Linked DNA regions of Homo sapiens: all the other regions are linked to region 2. The links are contacts of gene promoters, found by promoter capture Hi-C in human tissues and cell types (Jung and others, 2019). All regions are on one chromosome and are shown on one strand. Each heading gives the region's core, a stretch centred on a gene start or on the middle of the fragment in contact. The rest is flanking DNA. Distances are from core to core; before and after follow the strand shown. Region 1 holds the start of MRPS25 (mitochondrial ribosomal protein S25). Region 2 overlaps CHCHD4 (coiled-coil-helix-coiled-coil-helix domain containing 4). Region 3 holds the start of HDAC11 (histone deacetylase 11).

What was found. The method cuts DNA at HindIII sites, captures the fragments that hold promoters and counts their contacts. A contact is called where the count stands out against the background at its distance.
Region 1: a contact is called between the fragment with the promoter of MRPS25 here and a fragment that was not itself captured in region 2, in 1 of the 25 tissues and cell types used here (spleen).
Region 3: a contact is called between the fragment with the promoter of HDAC11 here and a fragment that was not itself captured in region 2, in 1 of the 25 tissues and cell types used here (dorsolateral prefrontal cortex).

What each region holds. Positions count from the first base shown.
Region 1 is chr3:15,063,609-15,067,146 of GRCh38, reverse strand. It overlaps MRPS25 (mitochondrial ribosomal protein S25), which reads left to right and starts at 1,832. Exons shown (of 4, transcript NM_022497.5): 1 at 1,832-2,086. The coding sequence starts at 1,953. RefSeq lists an enhancer at 1,673-1,852. The HindIII fragment of the contact is 13,424 bases long and covers 1-3,538 here.
Region 2 is chr3:14,115,242-14,119,025 of GRCh38, reverse strand. It overlaps CHCHD4 (coiled-coil-helix-coiled-coil-helix domain containing 4), which reads left to right. Exons shown (of 3, transcript NM_001098502.2): 2 at 2,502-2,600. Among named protein-coding and RNA genes, the nearest start is that of CHCHD4, 7.7 kb to the left of the region's middle. The HindIII fragment of the contact is 4,215 bases long and covers 1-3,784 here.
Region 3 is chr3:13,478,950-13,482,494 of GRCh38, reverse strand. HDAC11 (histone deacetylase 11) reads right to left here and starts at 2,189. Exons shown (of 10, transcript NM_024827.4): 1 at 2,146-2,189; 2 at 1,101-1,249. The coding sequence starts at 2,147. HDAC11-AS1 (HDAC11 antisense RNA 1) reads left to right here and starts at 2,442. Exons shown (of 2, transcript NR_046690.1): 1 at 2,442-2,852. RefSeq lists enhancers at 1,468-2,124, 2,774-2,833 and a silencer at 1,824-2,313. The HindIII fragment of the contact is 10,065 bases long and covers 1-3,545 here.

The DNA of each region.
Region 1 (3,538 bases), core at 583-3,082, 950 kb before region 2:
AAAAAATTAGCCAGGCATGGTGGTGTGCACCTGTAGTCCCAGCTAAGTGGCAGAGGTGGGAGAATTGCTTGAGCCCAGGAGGTAGAGGTTGCAGTGAGCAGAGATTGCACCAGTGCACTCCAGGCTGGGTGACAGAGACTTTGTCTCAAAACAAACAAACAAACACCCTAAGAATCAAAAGGAAGTGCTAGAAGTTAAAACCTTAAATGAAAAATGCCTTAATGGGCTTATCAGTAGACTGTCCATAACCAAAGATTAAATGAATTTGAAGATAGGTCAACAGAAACTTCCCCACTAAAATGCAAAGAGAACCTCCATCACCCCGCCAGAACATTCGAGAACTATGAGGCAATTCCAGAAGACATAAAATGCATTTAACTTGAATACTAGAAAGAGAAAAGAGTGAAGAATAAATACCTGAACTAATAAATGGCTAAGAACTTTACAAAATTAATGACAGACATGAAATCACAGATCCAGGAGGCTCAGAGGACTCCAAGCAGGACAAATACAAAACATCTACAGATCTGCATTACCTTATTCTAACCCCGTAAACCAAACACCAAGAGAAAATTTGAAAGAAGCTAAAGGAAAAAGCCATCATACCTATAAATGTAATTGCATTTAATTACTTGTTTGAAACCATGCAAGCAAAAAAAGAGTGGAGTGAACTATTTAAATTGTTGAAAGAAAAACACCAGGGCCAGGCGCAGTGGCTCACGCCTGTAATCCCAGCACTTTGGGAAGCTGAGACGGGCGGATCATCTGAGGTCAGGAGTTTGATACCAGCCTGACCAACATGGAGAATCCCCGTCTCTACTGACAATACAAAATTAGCTGGGTGTAGTGGCGCATGCCTGTAAGTCCGGCTACTCGGGAGGCTGAGGCAGGAGAATCACTTGAACCTGGGAGGCGGAGGTTGCGGTGAGCCAAGATAGCACCATTGCACTCCAGAAGGGAGGGAGGGAAAGGAAAAACACTAACCTAGAATTCTAAATCTGGCAAAATCACTCTTCAAAAGAGAAGGAGAAATACCTTTCAGATCAAGAGTACTTCAGAAATGTATCTTTTTTTTTTTTGAGAGGGAGTCTTGCTCTGTCGCCCAGGCTGGAGTGCAGTGGCGCGATCTCGGCTCACTGCAACTTCCCGGGTTCGAGCGATCCTCCCACCTCAGTCTTCTGAGTAGCTGGGACCACAGGTGCTGCCACCACACCAGGCTAATTTTTGTATTTTCAGTAGAGACGGGGTTTCGCCATGTTGGGCAGGCTGGTCTCGAATTCCTGACCTCAAGCGATCCTTCCGCCTCGGCTTCCCCAAAGGCTGGGTTTACAGGCGGGAGCCACCGCGCCTGGCCCTAGAAATACATCTCACCCATAGTTTGTTTACGAAAAAATTGAGGTCCTGAGTTAAGTGGCTGAATTTAGGAAGGAATTGATCCCAAACCATCTTTTTTTCTTTTGCTAAGAAGTTTAAGTCAACGTCAGAAAGTGCAGTTTGAACTCTTCATGATAAAACTGGAGATGTTTGGGGAGAAAAATGGACAATACGTTCAATAGGACGTTATCAGCTGACTTGGTATCCAAACTGAGCTTTCCTGATTATTTCTTATTGCAATGTCTGACTTTTAGCCTATGTAAAAATATTTTCCCGTGGGTGGATGGGGAAATGACTAATTTACAGGACGCGACAACCTAAACCTTCCAAGGGGAAGGCGTCCTAAAGCGAAGCTGCACACACCGGTTCTCGCCGCGCCGGGTCGAAGGCCGCCTACAAGTCCCAGAGTGCTCCGCGGCGTGCGCTGCCCGCCGGGAAGCGTCTCCTGTGCGTCTGCGCGGGAAGTGGAACCTGGCTCTGGGGAGAAGCCGCGTGAGATCCGCGCGGGTGCTAGCTAGTCCTTTCTCGTCGCTGCTCGGCTCGCGGCCCGTGGGGTCGGCCCCGCCACCGTTGCCGCCATGCCCATGAAGGGCCGCTTCCCCATCCGCCGCACCCTGCAATATCTGAGCCAGGGGAACGTGGTGTTCAAGGACTCCGTGAAGGTCATGACAGTGAATTACAACACGCATGGGGAGCTGGGCGAGGGCGCCAGGTCAGTCGCAGCCCCGGCCGCCTGGCGAGCCGTAACCTGCTAGTCGTGCCAGCCTGCTGGTAACGTGAGGTCCCGAGTCGCTCTGGGCGGCCGTTCATCCCCGGGGCGGGCCCCCCAGGTCGGCGCTGTTACCCCCATTTTACAGAGGTCCAGACTGAGGCGGACGGCGGGGCCCCCGCCGGGCCGGCTGCAGTCGTGACGAGGTTTGGGGGGCGGAGGACAAGAACCCCACTCCTGGATCTCCTTCCTCCGGCGCGGTGGGCGAGGCTGACCCGAGGGAGGCCACCAGTTCCCTTGGCCCCTCTGGCCAGCAAGGCAAGCGCTGGGGAGGGGCAGCCGCAGATCCTTTCGGGGTGACGGGGGTGACACCCCAGGACGAATCTGAGGATAAAATGAGAGAAATAACAGCGGCGAACACTGATCATATCTCGCACAGTTCTGAATGCTTCTCGCGCTTTCTTTTTTCTGATGCCTAGAGAAACCCCAGCTTATCCCCACTCTAAGGCTGGGGAAGCGCACAGAGAGGTTAAGTAACTTGCAGCTCCACGAGACACCATGCCAGCCGGTGAGCGGTGAGCCGGGCAGTGTGGCCGCTTCCTTCGGGACTCAAGGTTTGGAAGGAAGTGATTAATTATGTCAGCTGTGCAGCGGCAGACCCTACCCCGACTAGAAGGAACTGTAGGGAACGCCTAGGATGTCTTTCAGCTTGGAGCAGAGTAGGGACTCATTGAATGGCAGTTGGCAAGTGAAAGGTTTGGATTGACCCTGAGGCAGCCCTAAGCAGTGCCTTAGGCTCTGCAGGTATGAAGTCTACATTTATTGAGTACACTCTGAGTGCTAGGCTGTGTGCTGTGTGCTGGGAGTTCAGCAGTGATGGAGGAGGCAGCCTTAGCCCGCAGAAACTTTGGGACTTGGGTGTATGTTGGATCAAAATGAGGCGTGGGGGCGGGGAGCAACTTCTTGTGGGGCATGGTCCCCTTGGTGACGGACCTTCACTGCATGGCCCTTCAAGAGATCCGGAAGCCGCTTCCTAGCCATTTGCTCTGCGCAGGTGAATCTGATAACTTGGACCTGCTTGCCTGGAATCAGCTGGCTTGATGGCTTCCTGGAAGACTTGGTCTTGGTCTTAGGGTGTATGGGCACCCAGATACTCCTTCATAACCTACTGCACAACTGTGCACACCTTTGTCCCCGGGCAACTGCCAGGCAGATAATGGGAAGGGGTGGGGGTCTCGGTGCGGCCCGCAGCGAGCTGGAGAGCACATGCCCTATCCAGAGGGCCCTTCACTGTTTGGCATTGTGGGCTCCGTGGAGAATTTCTCATTTGTCAAGAAGCTGAAATCTAGGTTTTTATGTAAATCTCTGGCTTTTAAATGGCCAGCCAATCAAAATAAGCCTGTGAGCCTCTTACTTACATTCTCAGATATTTTAATGTCCTCTAGGTAAATGGGA
Region 2 (3,784 bases), core at 702-3,201:
GGCAGAGAGCTCGATTCAGCTTTTCTTGGGTGAGGCCTGGTCTCTCTATGTATGGCAAACCCCAGGAGGGCCTCATACTTTACCACGTTTGGACCCTTTGCTTTCTGTGCCTGTGACTGGGCCTCCCCGTTGGGCTGCGCTGAGCTGCCATCTCGGTAAACAAAACTGCCAGAGCTGAGTTGCGAAATTTGCATCAGCTCATTCTGCTTAGCGTTCAACATTTTTACAGATTGCTTTTGAGTATTTTGGAAACTGGCCAGAATAGTAGAATCAAGGTTACTAGGTACTTTAACAAGTCCTGGCTGCCTGGTCCAAAAGCTTTCCCCAGTCAGCCACAGGGGAAAAGCAGCCTTCTGTTGGATGACATGCAAGGTATTGAGGCAGAGGCCAGCTCTGGGAGCAAAAGCCTCCAGTGGGTTGGGGGTCCTGGCCCCGTGTGCTGAGGGTTTTTTGTTGTTACTCTGTTCTAGTGTAAGAGACCCTGTGCAGTGTGGGCATGGCGTAAGGCACCAAAGTGCCCTCCCTCTGTCCCCTGAACTGTCCTTCTCACTGGAGATGTCGCTCGGTTTTTGTTGTCACTGCCCCCTTCCTTCCAGAAGCCTCTTCCTTAATTACTTCAGCCCAAGCATGGGCCCAAACCTTTTTCCTTGCTTTCCCCTCAGCATAGCTGTGACTGAACTTTTCTAAATATAAACAAAAAGTATAAAGTGATCAGAGATGCCCGCAGCTTTCACAGGGCCACGTTTCTGCAGGTCCGGCCTCTGCGCCCACAGTGGCCACTCACTCAGAGCCATGCACTGTGGCTCTCTGCCAGGCACTTTTGGCCATACCTGAAGAAGTCTTCTTAAATGCTTGGCACCTCCTATCCCCTTCCAGATGAGGGTCCCAGTACCCCAGATCTTCTAGGATCAGAATGCATGGTCAGTTGGTCTGTAGAATTTGTCATTCACCTTCACCAGGAAAGTACAAGAAAGATCTTGTTTGTTTACTTGGCAAACATTTCACTTGGTTCTAAGCTTTTTGGGGCCGAGGTTGGGTCAGAATTTATTGTATTTATTCATTGCCCAAGGTGCACAAGCTCTCAGGCAGTGCCCAGTCATGCTAAGTGCTCAGTGTCAGCTGTCGATTATTCTTGTGCAAATGTTGGTGCGGGGCAGTATGGGTGTGTAGAAAGGATCTCCAACAGTGTAGACTTCAGAGCATCCTGTCCTGTGTGGCCCAGCAAGTTACTACTCACAGCCTCAGGCTCACCACCATTAAAAGGGGATGCTGCTACCTCCCTCTCAGGGTGGCGATAGGATGGAGGAATGAGCTCACACGGAGGACCAAAAGATGGACTGGCTCTGTCTGTTCTCTGGGGACAGCTGGAGAAACTGATGACCCACCGTGCAGTGTGGGGTACTGAGGACAAGGTGCTCCTTGCCCACAATGGGAATATCTGACACATACCTGTGGTGTGGTTAGCTGATGGCCAAAGTTTTTAGGGAGGTGAGGTAAAGTGTTGACAGCTACAAGGTGTAGCAGAGAGGGCTGTAAGGACCTCCCTTCTGCTTAACTCAGCCTTGGTTTTCTGTTGTACTCCATGGGGGCTGAGGGTGATAATACTTCATAGGGGGTCACTCTAAGGCAGTGAATGCACCCACCCTGGTTTGGCCAGGACTGATGTGCTTTTCTGTGCTCACCCAGCCTCCAGTGAGGAGAAGCTCCTAATATAAAATGCATTTGACTCTCACTGGTCTGTTTTCCTGGAGCCCTCAGACCTTCCGGCAGCCAGGCCCCAGGGTGAGGGCTCTGGTTGTGAACAAGGTGCTCTGCACTTTAGGCCTGCTGGCTTTCCCATGCTGGTCCTCACAGGACCACAGTCCTGACCCTAACCACTGTTGGGTTTGTCCTAAAAAAATAAACTGCAGATGGTCACAGTTAAAAAGATCTGAGAAGTGCTCCTCCCACTGCCCCCCTCCAGTTATTATACTTGTTGGGAAATGGTCCCCCGGCCTCTTGGACTGTGGGGAGTGGAACGGCTGCAGTGTTCCTCACCTTATGACCCTTCCTTCTTCCGGCCACGATTAGGAGCCCAGAGGCCTAGTGGGGGTGCTGGCTGTGGTCCCTCTCAGACCACCTGTGTCCTCAGCCTTTCAGAGGCAGGGGCCTGTGGCCGCATCAGCTATGTGGGCTGCAGTGATCTGTAGGCTGAGGACCCACATCACTGCACACTCACTTTGCCAATGTGCTCAGTCTTCCTTCAACTTTTATGCATTCTGAACCCTGTGGGTCAACCCCAGGACACTCTTTTTCTTCAGTGCTTCTTTTCCTGCCCTGCCCCTTATCCATCCGCTTTTGTTTGCTACCCCTAGCATATGAGAGCAGTTTGATAGTCACCTCACATAGGGATGGCATATGGGAGAGTCTTCAAACTTGGTTTGTGTGGCGGCTGCTTTGGGTTTAAAGCTGATTCACTGCTCTTGAATGAAATATTTCTTCCTCTGTTCTCCAAACACTAGGGAAGGATCGAATCATATTTGTAACCAAAGAAGATCATGAAACTCCAAGCAGTGCAGAATTGGTGGCTGATGACCCCAACGATCCATACGAGGAGCATGGTGAGTGACATGTGGCCTCCCAGGGACCCACACCAGGGCACTGGGGAGAAGCTCAGTGTTCTTAATTCCTTTCCCATGTTTTCCTAGCCAAGGCCAAGTTTTCAGGTATCTATTCTCAGCCATAGACCATCTCTGAGGGCAGTGGTTTATCTTCCTCAGAGGTTTGAGGGACTGTGCTTTCCAGCCTTGTTCTGATGTACTTCCCTGGCACAACAGCTAAGTTTTGGGAGAGGGTATTAGTAGATTCCAGCAGTTATAGGTAGGTTAAGGTGACAGGGCTTTTGCTCAGACAAGTTGCCAGACTGAATTCTGCCACATCTACCAACTTTATTAGCAAGTAGACAGTCATTCACCTTGTTCTGTAAGGTTGGTGAAGTCCCTGCTGTCTCTAACTGCTCCAGCAAGCACCTTACATGAAAAGGTCACTTGCCACAGACAGCTTTCTAGCAGCAGGAGTCAGCTAACCTAGTCAGAGCTGTTGCTCACTCCTTGGTTAATGGCTGAATATAACAGTGGTCGCTTAGGCCTAGGACATTGTTCCAAAGGATTTGGGCTGCTAAACTCACTAGATACTTACTACTGCAGACCGTGTGAGGTGGATGTGTGTGTGCAGTGTCCATGAACAATCTACGTATTGTACAGTAGTCACTTCACCAATCAAAAACCACTTCTGATGTCCATGATGACAACTAATCTTCTAGTGCTAACTGGTAATTGAAGAGCTTGAAGCAGCCGCCTCGAGAATATGGGCTCCTGATTGGAATTTCTCAAATGCTAACTGATGTGTGTATATTCCTTGTAGGACCCTTCACTTGTTGCCCTGACTGCTCCTAGGGGTTAAAGCATAAAATACATATCCAGCACCCAGTGGGAGCAGTGGGAAATGCAGACGTTATACAAAGTGTTAGCATTCTGAGAAAGACAGCTGCAAGGGTAATCTTGATCAGGGCTTACATGTCAATTCTAGTACCTTGCTTATCTTTAGATCCATATTAAGCACATTTCATTAATTGATCAAGACTGTGGAGGCCTGCAGGACAAATCGGGCCTTGTTTTGTTTGCCTCACAGTGTTATTAAAAGCAGTACGTATCTGCCTTTAGACTGGTCTGCCCCCTCCAGATCCCACCATTCTTTCCTGTCCCTGTTGTTTTTTTTTACCTGCTTCTGTCACTTGCAATGTATC
Region 3 (3,545 bases), core at 940-3,439, 640 kb after region 2:
CACCTTCTGATGATATTACAGGAGGCTCAGTGTGGCATGGCCTCGCAACACCTGCCTGTGCTTTGCTCATCTTCCGTTCAAACCACTAATCAGTCTCACAGCCTGCAGGCAATAGTAACCAGCCTGGATTGAATTATACTGTTGTTTTCATTGCATTTACTTTTTTACCATGACCTATTTATGGCAAGTGAAACTGCCTTTTCCCATTTTGATGACATAATGTTTCCTTTTAAAACAAGTTTAAGTGAATTTCCCACCTAAATCAGGCCCCTTGATTACAAACCACAGTTAAAACGATATGCTCTTCGAAGCATCATTTTGCTCAAGGGGATGAGCCCTAAAGGTAGGGCGCCTGGAGCTCTGAGTTCCAAACCCAACTCCGCCTCTTGTAACTGTGTTACTTCAGCCACTAATGGGAGCTGTGTCCTTCCCTGGAAAGAGGTCACAAGCAGGCAGCCAGTGTGCCCAGTTCGGTCTACAGGTGGGCTTTTACAATCTTATAATGAGTGCCATATTAAGAAATCAGGGCCGGGTGTGGTGGCTCACGCCTGTAATTCCAGCTACTTGGGAGGCTGAGGCAGAAAAATTGTTTGAACCTGAAAGGCGGAGGTTACAGTGAGCTCCTGAGCCTCTGCTGCGATTGTGGTGCCTACCCCGAGGGCTGCTGTGAGGACTGGACTGGAATTGGGTGCACATGTTTCCTAATCATTCTAGGACACAATTTCCCCCATCTGTAATCAAGAGAGGTGCGGTGGAGGTGCTCTACCTCCTGACTCTCTGAACCTTAGGAAATGGACTCCTCCAAGCTTCACCTTCCCTGTGCCCATCAGTAATCAGCTACCTTTCCACTAGGCCTCTTGGGCAGAGGCAGGACTTAGGCCCACAGGATGGGGAGCCAGGGAGAGTCTGAGTCAGGGACATCATATCGTGATTAGGAGTCTGTGTTGGAAAAATCATTTTGGGCGGAAGCATGGGTGGAAGGCCATCCGAGGGCTGAAACTGAAGATGGGAGAGAGCCTGAGGCTTATGTTGGGGATGAGGACGGAGAGGACAGGTGGGTTGGAGGAAGCAGATGAGAGTCCAAGGGGGACCTTCCATACCTTTTAGGAAATTGATCACTTTGCCCCATTTTCCGGCATCAAAGGGATGCAGCTTCTCCAGGCCCATGAAGGTGATGTTGTAGCGCGGCGAGTACACGATTGGCCAGCGTGTCTCTGGCACATGCTGGTACAGCTGGGTTGTGTGTAGCCTACCGTGTGGAAAAAGACAGACGCACAGCTGGGGCAGCCTCGGCAGAAAGCAGCTCCCTCCCGAGCCCGCCTGGACTGACCCACCAGCCATTGCCCAGCACCACTAGCCCCTCAGCCGCAGACAAGGGCCCCTCAACAACAGCTGCTTAAACTGGCTGCCTTTCCCGGAACCCAATTCCAATCCAGTCCTCACAGCAGCCCTGGGGGTAGGCACCACAATCGCACCAGAGGCTCAGAGAGCAGACCAGGTGTGCCCAAGGTCACAGTGCAGGTCTGTGGAGAAGCAGGCGTGCACTCAGGTGTGTCTGGCTGCAAGGCCTCCGCGCATCACCTCTGCACCGTAATAAATGCCCCCACAGCTGTGTGGCACAAGGCTTCGGCTGCAAAATGTGTGGCTGTTGTGAGGACTCAGAGAATGCAACTGAGGAGCTGAGCACAGTAAGCACTCAGAAACCCAAGTCGGGACCCAACCTGAGCCAGGGCGGGGGGCGGGGATCCCCTGACCCCGCTGCGCTGCTAACCCTTCCCATCACACCCTGGCAGTCGTCACCCAGAGACAGAAATCCGCCCCAGTGGCTGCCTCCGTGGGGGCGTCCGCGTAGCCAGGGGGCTGGGCAGCGCAGACGTCAGACCCGCGCACATCGCCCGACCGCTCCGGGTCCGGGCCCAGGCCCGCGGCCGGCGCGCGTCCCTCGGGCCACCGAGCAGGGGCGCGGGGCTGGCCTGGCGCGCCGGGAGGGCCTGGAAACACCCGTCCCGAGCGTCCCTCACCCCTCACCAGCAAATCTGGGCCCTTACCTGGCGCGCCCGCCCGGCCGTCCCCGCCCTCGCCCTAGCGCGCCCGCCCACCGGGACCCCTGGGAGCCCACCCCCGCCCTCGCCCCGCGGCACTCACATCCCGGGGCCGGCCCTCCCAAAGCTGGCCGCAGCTCCGCGACCGGGCGGGGCGGGGCGGGGCGCGGGTGGGGCCAGCCCAGGACACGCCCCCGGGCTTAGCCGCGTCCTCTGGGGGCAGAGCTCTGGCCGATTTGGCCCGCCCCGCCAGTGTTGCGACACAGAGAGCCTGCCCGCAGGAAGGCCACCCCCAACGCCCATCAAGCCCGAAGTCCCGCCTCCGCAGGCAAATACCCGGTGGAATCCCGCCTGGTTCGGAAGCTCCGCCCCCTGGCGGGAGGGCCAAGCGGGTTTCACCCCGGCCTCGCGGAAGGGGCGCGACCACCGTATGTCCTGTTCCTGCGCTTCCCAAGCTGGGTAGAAACGGCGAGAGGCTGGGGGTTAGAAACGACAGGTTCCCGGCGGGCTGTGCCGGGGCTTCGCTGTGTGACCTTGGGCTGGCGTCTGGGCTCTCTGGGCCCTTGTTTCCGCGAGTTAAACGTAGGGGCGGGGGAGTTTCTCTGGCCCTGCCGCCTGTGACCTAAGGAGCCCCGTGACCTCTCCGACCCGAGCCCACCCCCGGCCCAGTCTGCGAGCAGCTCCGGGACAAGCACTCCCGGCGAAGACATGTAGGCTCTCAGAGCCTGCGTTTCCCTCTGTAGAGCAGGCCTAGTTACTGTCTTCAGGGTGCACGCGTCTCCGTCCCCGACCCGCACCCTCACCGCCGGGGTAAGCTGAGCCAGGCCCAAGCGACAGCTGGGGTTGTCCGTGGGGCTGCAACCCAGGAGGAGGCCCCAACAATAGAGCCCCAGAGGACGGAGACAATGGGCCTCTCTGTCGGCCCAGCCGTCCCCGCCATCCAAACAGAAGCAGCTGACGGAGGACTGCCGGGCTGGGATCCCTGGGCTCCGCGGGGGCGGCTGTGTGCCAGGGCGGGGCACAAGGGAAGCGCACAGACGTTTGAAGAGGGGCCCCCGTGTGCCTGCCATGATTGCATGATGGCATCTGAGCCTCACAACCTAATCCTGAGAAAGGTGCCATAATCACCCCAACTTTATCTTGAGGGAACTGAGGTTCGGGCCTGGATTAAACCCAAACTCGGCCACCCGCCAGCATAGTGGCTTTGGGCAGGTTGCTTCAGCCTTCTGGTCCTTCATGTCTGCATCTGAAAATGAAGTACTGGGCCGGGTGCGGTGGCTCACGCCTGTAATCCCAGCACTTTGGGAGGCCGAGGCGGGTGAATCACCTGAGGTCAGGAGTTCGAGACCATCCTGACCAACATGGTGAAACCCCGTCTCTACTAAAAATACAAAAAATTAGCTGGGCGTGATGAAGGGCGCCTGTAATCCCAGCTACTCGGGAGGCTGGGGCAGGAGAATCGCTTGAACCGGGGAGGGGAGGTTGCGGTGAGGCCGCGCCATT